Linked DNA regions of Homo sapiens: all the other regions are linked to region 1. Evidence: promoter capture Hi-C in human tissues and cell types (Jung and others, 2019). All regions are on one chromosome and are shown on one strand. Each heading gives the region's core, a stretch centred on a gene start or on the middle of the fragment in contact. The rest is flanking DNA. Distances are from core to core; before and after follow the strand shown.

Evidence for each region. Contacts are between HindIII fragments. The study calls those that stand out against the background at their distance.
Region 2: a fragment that was not itself captured here is called in contact with the fragment with the promoter of GREM1 in region 1 in 7 of the 25 tissues and cell types used here (IMR-90 fibroblasts, adrenal gland, aorta and 4 more).
Region 3: a fragment that was not itself captured here is called in contact with the fragment with the promoter of GREM1 in region 1 in 4 of the 25 tissues and cell types used here (IMR-90 fibroblasts, lymphoblastoid cells, ovary and 1 more).
Region 4: a fragment that was not itself captured here is called in contact with the fragment with the promoter of GREM1 in region 1 in 5 of the 25 tissues and cell types used here (H1 embryonic stem cells, IMR-90 fibroblasts, lymphoblastoid cells and 2 more).

Annotation. Positions count from the first base shown.
Region 1 is chr15:32,716,534-32,719,618 of GRCh38, reverse strand. GREM1 (gremlin 1, DAN family BMP antagonist) reads right to left here and starts at 1,615. Exons shown (of 2, transcript NM_013372.7): 1 at 1,458-1,615. GREM1-AS1 (GREM1 antisense RNA 1) reads left to right here and starts at 754. Exons shown (of 2, transcript NR_109767.1): 1 at 754-1,074; 2 at 1,255-1,518. RefSeq lists enhancers at 315-892, 893-1,471, 1,609-2,109. The HindIII fragment of the contact is 12,229 bases long and covers 1-3,085 here.
Region 2 is chr15:32,816,987-32,820,071 of GRCh38, reverse strand. The region is part of intron 17 of FMN1 (formin 1); the gene reads left to right. It overlaps LOC107984089 (a long non-coding RNA gene), which reads right to left. Exons shown (of 3, transcript XR_002957769.2): 3 at 1-2,508. Among named protein-coding and RNA genes, the nearest start is that of GREM1-AS1, 100 kb to the right of the region's middle. The HindIII fragment of the contact is 3,457 bases long and covers 1-3,085 here.
Region 3 is chr15:32,633,343-32,636,427 of GRCh38, reverse strand. All of the region lies in intron 9 of ARHGAP11A-SCG5 (ARHGAP11A-SCG5 readthrough), which reads right to left. ARHGAP11A (Rho GTPase activating protein 11A) reads right to left here. Exons shown (of 12, transcript NM_014783.6): 10 at 2,387-2,495; 11 at 513-651; 12 at 1-171. Among named protein-coding and RNA genes, the nearest start is that of SCG5, 6.8 kb to the left of the region's middle. The HindIII fragment of the contact is 4,296 bases long and covers 1-3,085 here.
Region 4 is chr15:32,799,679-32,802,763 of GRCh38, reverse strand. The region is part of intron 18 of FMN1 (formin 1); the gene reads left to right. The region is part of intron 1 of LOC107984089 (a long non-coding RNA gene); the gene reads right to left. Among named protein-coding and RNA genes, the nearest start is that of GREM1-AS1, 82 kb to the right of the region's middle. The HindIII fragment of the contact is 4,298 bases long and covers 1-3,085 here.

The DNA of each region.
Region 1 (3,085 bases), core at 366-2,865:
TCAGATTTGCTCTTTCCAGCAGGAGATCCAATTACCTATCGGTGGTCACCTCTCTGCCCTCGGACCGTTTAAGAGGGGGATTTTAACCCCTAACGCTGAGGCTGTATTTCTGTCTATAAGAGCCGAGATTCGGAGTCGGTCGAGGAGGGGAAGGCAGTAGACGGATTCGACCCGGGAATGCATTAGGGACAGCTCCGGGCGCGCAGGAATTTCTTCACAGCAGAGGCTGGTCACCTGCCGTCCGTCCCTCCCCGCCTGGCCCGGTGACCGTCGCCAGAGCCTGGCGCAGGCAAATAAACGCCAAGCTGGGGCACCCCCAAGGAGGAGCTGCGATCCGAAGGCAATGCCAAGCGAGAGCGGTGGCGCGTCTGTTCTTCCGGAGTCTGTAGTCTACAAATAACTCCGGCCAGCAAGGAGGTGACAGCCCCAATATACCTCCCACTCCCCTGCTATGGCCTTGCTCCGCAAGCTGTGGAGGGGCCAGCGGAGCCAGCCAGGCAGCGAGAGAGAACGAAAGACGCCCAGCTCGTTGCAGCCGCCAACCCGCCTCAGCCGCCAGTCCCTAGTCCTCAGGAGCTAGTGAGGCGCTGCAAGGCGAGGCTGGGGCCTCTAGAACACAGTTTAAGGGGTGCGCGCGGAAGTGGGAACCAGCCGGTGGCCGCTGCCCGGCGCCAGAACGTCTACCATTCAGCCCGGGCGTGCGCGGGGCGGGGAAGAGGCTGGAGTAGAGAAGCGAGCGCCCGCGAGTGCGTGGCCGGTCCGCGAGCGCGTGTGGTGTCTGCCTTGTGAGCACTGCGGGTTCGCTGGACCCCGCGGCCAGGGCCGCGCCCCGCACCGCAGCTGTCGGATTACCCACCGTTCGGTTTTCCGCTGTGGCTGAACACAGCGGCTCTGCCCTTGCCAGTCTCCATCTCACCTCGGGGATCGGCAAATGCACACATCATGGATTCTCCGGATGCTCCAACCCGCGGACTCCAATGGGCGCCCCAAGACGCCCCCAGACCCAGCGCGGCGCCCCAAGCACATGGGACCCTCTCAAGGCAACTCGCCGCGCAGTCAGCGGCCGACTAGCAGGTCCGGATGCTCCTGCGCTCTGGCGGCCTGGACTTCGCGCCCTCGCTAAGCGGGCGCGTCTGCCAGGCGCTGCTGCCACCAGCACCAGGAGCGTGTTCGGGGGCCTCCGGGAGGTGGAAACGGGATGTGGGGGTCATCCTGCCCGCTCCTGACAACTTTTTTTCCTACGTTTCCCTGCAGACCCAGAGCAGCGAGGTCACGGTGTCCGCGGCCTCAGCAGGAAGGACCCCGCGATGGTTCTTCACAATTCACCCCCGCGAACAACGCACCCGAGCCTGCGCGCACGGAGGGCTGCCGCGCGTGGAACTGAGCGGGTCCTGGGTTGGTTTGCGGCCCTCTTCCCTCCGCCCACTCACATCCCTGCCGGGTGCGTCCGCGCTCACCTGTCAGTGCGGCGGGTCCTCGGGGCCTGCGCTTTCGACGCGTGGCGCTGAGTGCGGCCGCGGCCAGAGCCGCCGGGGCTCGGCGCGGGGTCAGCGGGACCGAGAGTGACGCGGCGGCCGTGCACTGGGTCGCCCGGTCCGCGGAAGGCGCACCGAGTGCCAGGCATCGCGCCGTCTCCCGTTTAAATGCCGGCGGCAGAGCGCGGCGCCCGGGGCCGCGCCTCTCCATTGGCCAGGCGCCGCCGCCGCCGCCAGACCCGCTATCCGCCCCCTTTCCCGGTACTGCCCCCGCCCCCCGCACCCCTCCTGCTTCCCCGCGGGGTCCCCTCTCCGCCCGCCTCGCCTCTTTGTCTGCTCCCCCCGCCCGGGCCGGCTGGGAGAGGTCACCCCAGGGAACCGCGCCTGGAATGCACAGCAAATCACATTTTCCGCTCCCGTTGGAGAGGGAAGAGCGGGAGGAAATCCCCCCGGCTGGCGGCCCCTCATTCCTTCTCTGCCCCAGGTCTGGGCTTTCCCTGTCGGCCGCCCGGCATCGCCTGCGTTGGTCCCGCGCTCAGTAGCGGAGACTGCGCTGGGAAGAGCGAGATCTCCGTGGGATCGTGCCAGATTCGGCCATTCTTCCCCTCTGGAGGGAACGGGACTGCGGGATGCTCTGGTCGAGCGGCCGTCGTGGCTCCCCGGCGGCCCCGCCCGAGGCCCCCAACTTCGAGGGCGCTGACCCCGGCGCCCCCGTTAACCTGGCGGGCTCGCTGGCCGCCAGCAGGAGCCTGTCGCCAACATGACACCCTGCTCTCCTCGCCCGCCAAGGGTTCTTTCAGCCCAGATGCCGGCGGCCTCCCCTGTGAGTGTACAGAGGGGAGTCACGGGAGGAGAATAAAACTAAATGACCGTCAAAAGTCAAGGCTTCTGTTCCTAAATTATCTTAAGAGACAGAGAGAAAACAGCCACTGGGCGAGAGGGGTTTTCTGTAGCATATCAAAGACGAATAAGTCAGGAAAATAAAACGTTAGATGAGGAAGTAACTTCCCAGAAATTTAGGACAAAAACCTACCGACGTGTAAAACCAATGTCACATTCCGGATACCAAGTACATAAATAGTTTTCGAAAGATGAGCGAACACTTTCATTTGTTCTCTTAGCCTGAAAAATTGGTTCCTCAAAGAGGCCGTAAGTTTTGTGTGTTGAAGCTAAAGTCCGTGCAAAAATTAACACGTCTGCAAGATCTGCAGACCAGCTCCATCAGCCACGTCAAATGAAGACTTTGAAAAAGATTTGCTACAGAAGGAAATATGAAGGTGTCTGTATTGTCTAACGCGAAATAAACAAAACAATGAAATCCATCAAAAGATACTTACGAAACACCCGTAATTTAAGTACTTGACTAGGAAAACAAAACCAGACCAGAAAACAGCCTATTTTTTTTTTCTCTTTAGTCCGGCGTTAGGGGGAAGAAGCAAGAAACATCTACTAGATGCTGTTAGGAACGTGAAATAGATATTTTTAAATAAATGAAGCAAGAAGGACGTCTGCATTAGTATCCTTAAAATCTTAGTCCTCTCAATGTTTTGTTTGTGCAGATGGCAGTTTCTACACATGAACTCGAGGCTGCACTTTACAATTCTCAATCA
Region 2 (3,085 bases), core at 233-2,732, 100 kb before region 1:
ATCTTTAGGCATATCAGTTTTAAATGTTTAAATATCTGTAATTATTTTGTTTAACACTGATGTAGCTGGACTTATTATTCAGTCCACCATTTGAGATGGCAAAATCTTAAAAATACATCAAAGGCAGATTATTCTTGCCAGTCCTGTTTCAAGTATGCGAAAAATGGTAGGTAATACATTTACATTTTTAATTTCATTATATAAATGACATTAAACTAACCATAAAATAATTGCCAATAATAACAGCATTGTTTCACTGAGCTTCTATACATGACTGTGAGTCATTTTTCCTCGTCAAAATGAGAAGTGGTTTTTTTTCTTTCTTTTTTATAAAGTTAGATCCTAAATGCCCAACTTTTGACCATATTTTTCTTCTGCTTTGGAATTTTTTTCCTATCAGTCATTATATTTCTTTAGGAAACGTCTTTAAATTTTTTTGTGGGAAGGAACAAAGCTAGCAAAGAAACAGATGTGTCCCATATAAAATATGCAATAAATCTTGTCCCACAAATTCTTTGCTCTGAACTTTCTGACAGAAACTGTCAAATATCCACTTTAATTCAGGTATAAAATGTTCACTCCATGTCATGGCGCCAACCACCATATGCCAGAATAAAGTTAGTGACCAGCCATAAAAACAGCAGCATAAGCACCTTTGAAACGGTACAAGTCATCGTGGGTGAGAACGACCCATATAAATCCATAGGGAATTAATCTTGGCTTTGCTACTATCCTGCTGGGCATTTACAACAAGCTTCTACTCCCACACAGCAGAAGTAGTAATACTTTTTAAAAGGAGAGAGAAAATAAGAGAGCCGTATGTCCACCTAATAAGCTTGTTGGTTGGGGGGAAGGGGGTTGCATGGATCAGAAAGCAGTAGGTTTTCCTCCCCCTCCTCGGAGCTCTGGAATCCCCTTGAAGAGGCAGAGCTCAGCCTCAGTTGAACATGTGGGGTTCTTCTTCAGCTCGCCTTGCCTGCCTTCGCAGATCATGTGAAACCAATCTCCCTGAAGTGCAATCACAAGGAATGACTTCAGCTTCATAAATCATTGTTATCATCCCACAGGAGGAGGTAATGCTATGGTTTTTCTCCAGTAAAACATTTCAAGCCTCTGGTTTCATGAGCCTTTTTTTTTTTTTTTACTTTCTGAAATCAGCTTCGTGCCACTTGTACAATTAGCTTCAGGCTCCTGCGTACAGGAGATGGTGGCACTTCTCCAGTTTGCATAATATTTGAACATTTTACCCTCTCAGATTTCGAGGGAGATCTGTTTCCTACTGAATGCGTGCTTGTGTGTGTGGCTTGTCATATACACAGAGGCTTCACATTTGCTTCCAAGAATATACTGATCCTCAATATTTTTTGCATTAAGGGTATTTTCTTTATACTATATTTTTCAAATACAGAATAAGTAGTATATATTAGGTTTAAGCACAGGATAAAGAAATCTCAACTTACTTTGCAGTATTAGACACTATTTTAAAATGCACTGGTAGCCATGTAAAACATTTCTCTAAGGCGCAAAAATAGGAAGACTAAAGGGTGAAGCAATGGATGATTTCCAAGTTAAATCAAAAGATAAAAATCTGCCTTAATTCTATTTGGTAATATTTTAATAATCCTTCATAAACACTTCTTTCCTACAAGATCTCGTTTAGGAAGAACTGTCAAAAAATTATTCTGAAATGCTTTCATGAGTTTCTAGAAAATGTTTTGTTTGAATAGGTTCCATACTCACTTTGAAATAAAGGCTAATTTTTCAACAATTATTTTTAATAATTGTAAATTTAAATATAAATTCATTATAAAAGTATTCATTTAGAAGTTGACCTATACCTATACCTTTATGTTAAATAAAATGCAAGGGAAAAAATGAAAAAGCAAGAAAGGACATTACATTCAATATAATTTCAACTATATAACTAAAGCACAAATGAGTGTGTGATTATAAATATATACATTTATGAAATGAATCAGCATATTAATAGTGGCCATTGCTCAGAGAAAGTCTTATGCACTGCTTTTATTTTCTTATTTATATCTTTCTCAAATGTTCTACAATGAGGATTTATTACTTGTAAAATCTGGGGAAAATACAAAGGTTTGATAAAAAGCAGGGAAAAAGTGACCCACTGTAACATTCATTCTTATTGAATGTATTGTTAAATTGTTACCATATCAATGTGATTATTCAATGTTTGTACAAATTTTTCTTCAACAAAAGCTTTTTCTCTGAGGATGACAGTTATGATTGAAAGGTGACTCTGGAGGATTCCACCTGGAATTCTGATAAATTCACTGTCAGCACTTTCACCTTGACTTAGAAGCAGTGTGGTCACTTTAAAAACCAAGCCTCATTTCTTTATTTCCTTTTACTGGCTCTGATAATGATTGCTTCTGCTAATGGTTCATCTACTGGTGGAACAGATCAAATGTTCTTTAATGTGGAAAATATCTTCTGCAGCATCTTCTTTGGGAATCCCAGTTCTCTCAGCATTTTCTTTTCCTGCAAATATCACCCAAGAGACAGATTATGACCTTCATCACACCTAGATACTTGGTAACATCAGAGCTCTTGAAGTCATCGTGTTAATTCTTGGGTACCATTTCTAGTGGACCCGTTTTAAACCTCCAGCTATGACAAACCCTTGACCAAGTGAAATAAAAATGGGTTAAAAAGTAATTTGATGTTGTAAGCAATAGCCAATATTAGGGAAATTAGACTTTTGTCGGGTTCTGTGGCCATGTAAATTCAGTTTCCTAAGTACATTTAGCCTTTGCCAGGGTTTTAAAAGAAGATTGATTTAAGGATAGCAATGGCTATTTCATGATTATTTACAGGACGTTCTGGTAGTCTATTCATTTTTATGACTAAACATCTGAACAATTATTTTTCTAGAGGGAGAGCTTCAGCTATTTAACAAATGTGTTAAGCTACACAGATGTCAGAGGTTTCGTGTAAATAGATCTAGAACAAGAAATTTCCTTTGTCAAGGTATGATGCTGTATATTGTAAATCATGTATAAGTATGGCTTCTTTCTTCTCTTAGTTTTTCTTTAGTTAACGTCAGTCTTAAGCCATT
Region 3 (3,085 bases), core at 525-3,024, 83 kb after region 1:
GCTCCAAAGAGTTTTCTACCTCAAGATTTTCCACCATTGAAGAAGCTTCATTTGCATCTACTTCTTGAAAACTTGAATTATTAGGTCCTGTCCAAGACATCCGGTAATTTGTTCCAACTAGTCGCTCTGGAGTTAGTAAGGTTTCCTCAGACTTACTGATCTTTTCTGAACCTAAAATAAAGCAGTTCAGTGCTTAATCCTTTGTATTTAACCTTGTTTTGAAATAATACCCAAGCACATGGCAAATAAGTCACTAAGCATTTAATTCTAATAAAGTATTTGTGTTACAAGAAATAATTTTTAACATAAGAATGTCAAACATTTTCATATTTACATGTATAAGCATTTCCCAATTGTTGATAGAAAAATACATTGCCAATTCTAATATTTTCACTATTCAAACATGAACTTTTAATCTCTAGAACAGTAAATTAATTAATATGTTTTGCCATTAAAAAAGCAACTAAAGCAGGATTTTTAGGTAAAACTCTAACAGTAGTATGTAAATGTACCTTTCTTTGGTAACTTTTCATCAACATCTGGGCTAAAAAGCAAACCTGTTTTTACAGATTCAATTCGATTTTTTAAACTTTGTTGATTTGCAAGTCGCCAACCAACACTTTCATATCTATTGACACCAGAACATCCATTCTGTACAGAAAAAAAAAAGTTTTAGTTAAGAAATAAGCCTAGTTAATTCAAAATATAAAGACAGAATAATTTTTTGTAGTTATCAAAATCTTTAGCTGATTTAAAAAGGGATATATAATTGAGAAACAATTCTTAACAATGACAAACATTCTTGCCTGCTAATGAAAACTGTAATCATTTGATTTTGCTATTAGTTGATATTTTATGATCTATTTTTAAAACAGTCTCACATATTAATTAAAATAATTTCTGTGTGTGCTCTGACTCTGTGCTAGGGCCTGTTCACAAATAGTTGGGGCAGTGGGGTACCTAGACCAAAATCTTATCCTTATGTAATTTACATTCTATTTAGATGGGGAAATTTAGACTTAAGATAAACAGTAAATTATATTGCATAAATACAATATACAAGGTGAAAAGTGCTACGGAGAAAAGTAAAACAGAGTAAAAAGGATATGGAGTGGTGAAGAATGGAGGTTTAGTTTAAAATAGGGTGATGAGGAGATAATTTGTGAGTAAAACAAAACAAAGGTGAGAGCCATGAAGATTTAAGGGGGAAGAACACTACAGAAAGAGCAGAATGCCAGTGCAGTCTCTGAGACTGGAGCAGAGTGAGCAAGGGGGACTGGAGGAGAGCTCAGAAATGCAGCCTGAGAACAGATCACGTGAGGCCTTTGCAGGTCAACATGAGAACTCTGGCTTTTATTCAGAGTGAAACGAGGAGTCACTGGAGAGTTCTGAGCAGAAAACTACATAACCTAACAGATTTTAAAAGATAAATTTCAACTACAGAACTGCAGCAAGGGTAGGAGAAGGAAGAACTATTAACAGGAGTTTACTAGAGTAATCCAGCTGAGAGATGACAGAACTTAGAGAAAGTGGGAAAAGTAGTAATAGTGAGAACTGGTCAGTTTGGAGATACTCTAAAAGCAGAAGTTAGACAAGATTCTCTAATGGATTAGACATGGTGTCTCAGAGAAAGTGAGGAATCAAGGATTTGACCATGGTTTTTGGCTTAAGTGACTGGAAGAACGATTTGCCATAACTGAGATAGGGAAAACCACAGGTAAAAGTGTTGTTTGGTGCAGGGCATAGCAGCAGCAAAGAAATCCATCTGCTTGGGACAGGTTACATTTGAAATGCCTATTGGATTAGATATCCAAGTAGGAGAGTCAAAAAAGCAGATGTTAAGAGACAGCGGAGTCATTCAGAAGAGCATTTGGGACTAGAGAACATAAACTTGGAAGTTTTAAGTAAATACAGGTTGGGCATTCCAAATCTGAAAAGCCAAAGTTCTGGATGCTCCAAAAATCCAAAGCTTTTAAGTATTTGACATGATGTTCAAAGAAAATGCTCACTGGAGCATTCCAGACTTTCAGATTAGGGATGCTGAACTAGTAAAAATAATGTAAATATTCCAAAATCCCCCCCAAAAATGGGGAATCTGAAATACTTCTGGTCTCAAGCATTCTGGATAAGTGCTACTCAACCTGTATATAATGTTTAAAACTGATGATCACCTTGAGTGAGTGGAGAGAAAAAAGAGAAGTCCAAGGACTAAGCTTTGGGTACTCCAATGCAAGGAAATTTGATATCAACTCAAGTATAAGAGTTTTGGATAAAAAGAACAGAATGAGACAGTCACTGGAAGGAAGGTAGGGCTATGAGTGTTTTTTAGTATCAAGTTTATAGCGTTATGCTAATATAAAGATCAATAAAATGGTAAGAAACTTACTACTTCTCTGCCATTTTTCCCTAGATTGAATTTCAAACGCAGAGATCTTCGAACCTTTTCTTTATGGCTGATTTTAGGAGAAAAGCAGCCTGCTTTTCCTGATTCCACTCTAGAAGAAGTGGAATTAAAAATGTCAGTTTATAGTATAAACACCAGAGAAATACTTGAAATACGAAATTTGAAATAAAGTCCACAGCAAATCATATTGATAATAATTGGATGGATTAATAATTCTTTAAAAACAGTTCAACTTTAAGATACCATACATGAACACACTGCATTTGCATAAAAAATGATCTGCTAATCTTAAAAGTTAGTCAGTCAGTTATAACTCAGAATTGTTAGAATAGGCTAGCTTTTTAACCTAACAGGAATTTTTTTCTTTGTTTTTTATTTTTTGAGACAGGGTCTCACTCTGCGGCCCAGGCTGGAGTATAATGGCATAATCACTGCTCACTGTAGCCTTGACATCCCTGGGCTCAGATGATCCTCTCACCTCAGCCTCCCAGGTAGCTGGGACTACAGGCATGTGGCACCATGCCTGGCTAATTTTTGTACTTTTTAGTAGAGATGAGGTTTTGCCATGTTGCCCAGGCTGGTCTTGAACTCCTGAGCTCAAGTGCTCCACCCACCTCAGCCTCCCTAAGTGCTAGGATTACAGGCATAAGCCACCGTGCCCAGCCTCTAACAGGAAATTTT
Region 4 (3,085 bases), core at 279-2,778, 83 kb before region 1:
CACGTTGGTGTCAGGCCAAACAGAAATTCAGCTTCTGGGGCGGATGTCAAATTTCTAATACTTTTTCAGGATTCTTGCTGAAGGAAAAGGGGGCCCAGCGTGGAGGGGCCGAAACTGCTGCCGTGCATTAGCTCTGTGGAGGGGAGTCATAAATTCTGGTTGTCAGCGTTTTCCGTGGCTTTGTGGTGAAGGTAGTCTAGCTTTCATGTCATACATGAAATATGTTAGATCCCATCTTTAATGTAGAAACCACAGTTGTTTGGTTATACTCTTTAAGGAGGTTGTGGTCAGTGTTGCAATATTTGTGTGAGATTAGTGAATTCTTATGTTTTATTCTCAAGAGAAACAATTTACTCTGAGGCTAAGGCATATTTGCTTTTCCTAAGCAGTTTCTGAAGGCATGCATGTAAGACAATAAGTGGATGTGTTCCGCTCTGGATCTCAGGACTGTAAAAGTAAAACAGTTCACTTCGCTACAGGCTCTTTGATGTAATCATTGTCTGTACTTTAAAAATGTTTGGCTGAATTAAAAAGATACAAATCAGACAGGGAATTATAGCAGAGAGAAAAGGGGTCAGGGACTAGTTTGCATGAAATGAAAAAGTTATATAAAACCAAACATAGGATTAGAAATCAATCTTCTAAAATTTGAGAGCCATTTTAGAGCTATCTGCTAACAAATAGAAATTTCAAATCGCATGATTGACCTTTGTTTCCTGTATATTAGAGAAAATTCTCCTGGTTGTTAAATATCAACAATTTTCTTGTCCAAATTGCAAAAGATTTTCAGTGGTCAATCTCTGTGAATCAAAACTGAATTTAAAATGGAGTTTTGTCTAGGAAAGACAACAGTCTAGGCCTTATCAAACCATTGCAGGTTCATATTCTAGCTTTTAGCATTTTCTTAAACAGTGGAATAACAATGAAATCAAATAAGGCACACTGGTTTTGTTTGTTTGTTTGTTTTTTGAGACGGAGTCTCATTCTGTCGCCCAGGCTGGATTGCAGTGGCGCAGTCTGGGCTCACTGCAAGCTCTGCCTCCCAGGTTCACGCCATTCTCCTGCCTCAGCTTCCTGAGTGGCTGGGCCTGCAGGTGCCTACCACCACGCCTGAATAATTTTTTTTTGTTTGTTTGTTTTTGTTTTTTTGTTTTTGTTTTTAGTAGAGATGGGGTTTCAGCATGTTAGCCAGGATGGTCTCGATCTCCTGACCTCGTGATGCACCCGCCTCGGCCTCCCAAAGTGCTAGGATTACAGGCGTGAGCCACTGTGCCCGGCCAAATAAGGCACATTCTTGAAGCGACTTTATCTTTGTCTAAGCTGCTGAGTGCCAAAGCCAGGCCATCCTCTGGGAGTCTGTGTACTTTGGTTCTTCTGAAGAGGTTCACTTGCTTTCTTAGTTTCCAAAACACATAAGAAAAAAAAGGCTGAAATTTAGTATTTTTTTTAGTGTTTCTCCCCCTTTCAGGGAGAGTAAGCAAGCAGTACCTCACAAATCCCCAGGGAGAGAGGCAAGGAGGGCAATGGTTAGCTTCAGTTTAGAGTTGGGAAAATCGAGGCCCACAGGAGGATGATGTGTTTTTCTCAGGCTGTGCAACAACCACCAAATCACTCTTGACATTCTCTGAAACTGCACCAGGATTTGCAATATGTTGATCTCACAATCTAGACTCCAGGTGATGCCAGAGGTGTCAGGTGTTCCATGAAGCACAATAACTGGACTTCACTATATTTTGCTGGAAAATCAGAAGATAAGTTGTCCCTCTAAATACTAGAAATGAAAGACTTTCCCTTCCCCATGAATGCTCAAATAAATATGTATCTGTATAGAAGGTAAGCATAAGAAAGAGAAAAAATAATCACATGCCCTCCCTGGGGTAATGCATGTTATGTGTGATACAGAGGAGGACACCTGTGTCTAAAGTAGAAAAGGGTGGGGTAGAACGACTATTTTGTCTCTTAAATGCCTGTGTTATTGAGCATGAGCAACAGAAAGATAAAGCAGACAGAGCATTTCACAGAAAATCAGGGGACCTGAATTCCAGGCCCAACCCTACCAGGGAATAATGCCACACAGTCTTTCCAGGTCTCTGTTTTGTCACCTATAAAATGATAATTTGGGCAAGTCATCCTGTAAATTCCTTCCCATTCTAAAGTCCTGTGACTTTGTAGGAAATGAATGGCCTGTTCCTATAGGTTATATAACTCTCTACTTATGTATTCCCATGCTATAGTCAAAATAATTTTCATTTGAGTGAAATAAAGTTACATGCTATAGAGTGTACATTTGGTTTTACCAGTGTTTGGACTGCCATGGAAATAAGGGTTATGTCTGGGGCAAGAGTGGACATTGCCACATTCTTCCCTTCCCGGTTTTTCTCAACATTATGTATGTTTGGAATTATAATAGAGTCCCTTAAGAGATTACTGCAGTTATTGCCTTTCTCCACTTACACATTTCCAGTCTTTTAATAACTGGGAGCCAAAATTCCCTGACCAGTAGTTTTAATTTGCATTAAAAACAGATTTATTCTTTACAGAAGCACAAAGAATTTATGGGACTCAGAGCTGCAGCTCCAGCTTGGATCTCGCCTAATCGTACCCATGGAATCAATTAACAGTTCATCTGTGAAATGTGATAAAATCTTATGAGATACATATTGCCCAATAACCGAGAATGAGATGAAAGTATGCTCCATAATAGTAACGGAGCTTCAGGGTTTTACAATCGCCATTGAATAGAGTTCCATTAGAAAATCAGTATTCAGGATGGCCACACACAAAAAAAAAACCACTGTGTCTGAACAGATGATAGAGCATTGAGTAATAAACCTGGCCAGCCATTCCTGCTTTGATTAGTTTCCAACACCCTAGAAAAGGGGGTCATTTATTTAAGTGTTCTTGCTCATGGCAAATGAGCTTGTGAGGCTTGGGGTAGGTGGGGGTGAGGGGGAAAGATTGAGTTCAAAGCTGTAAATTGCTGCAAAGCTAGTGCCTCCAAGAAGGGCTGCTTGGGAGGCCCAGGTAGTCTGGTGTGCAGTGAGCCTTGCTGGGATAGGTCTTACTGATATCTGGGAATCCACTC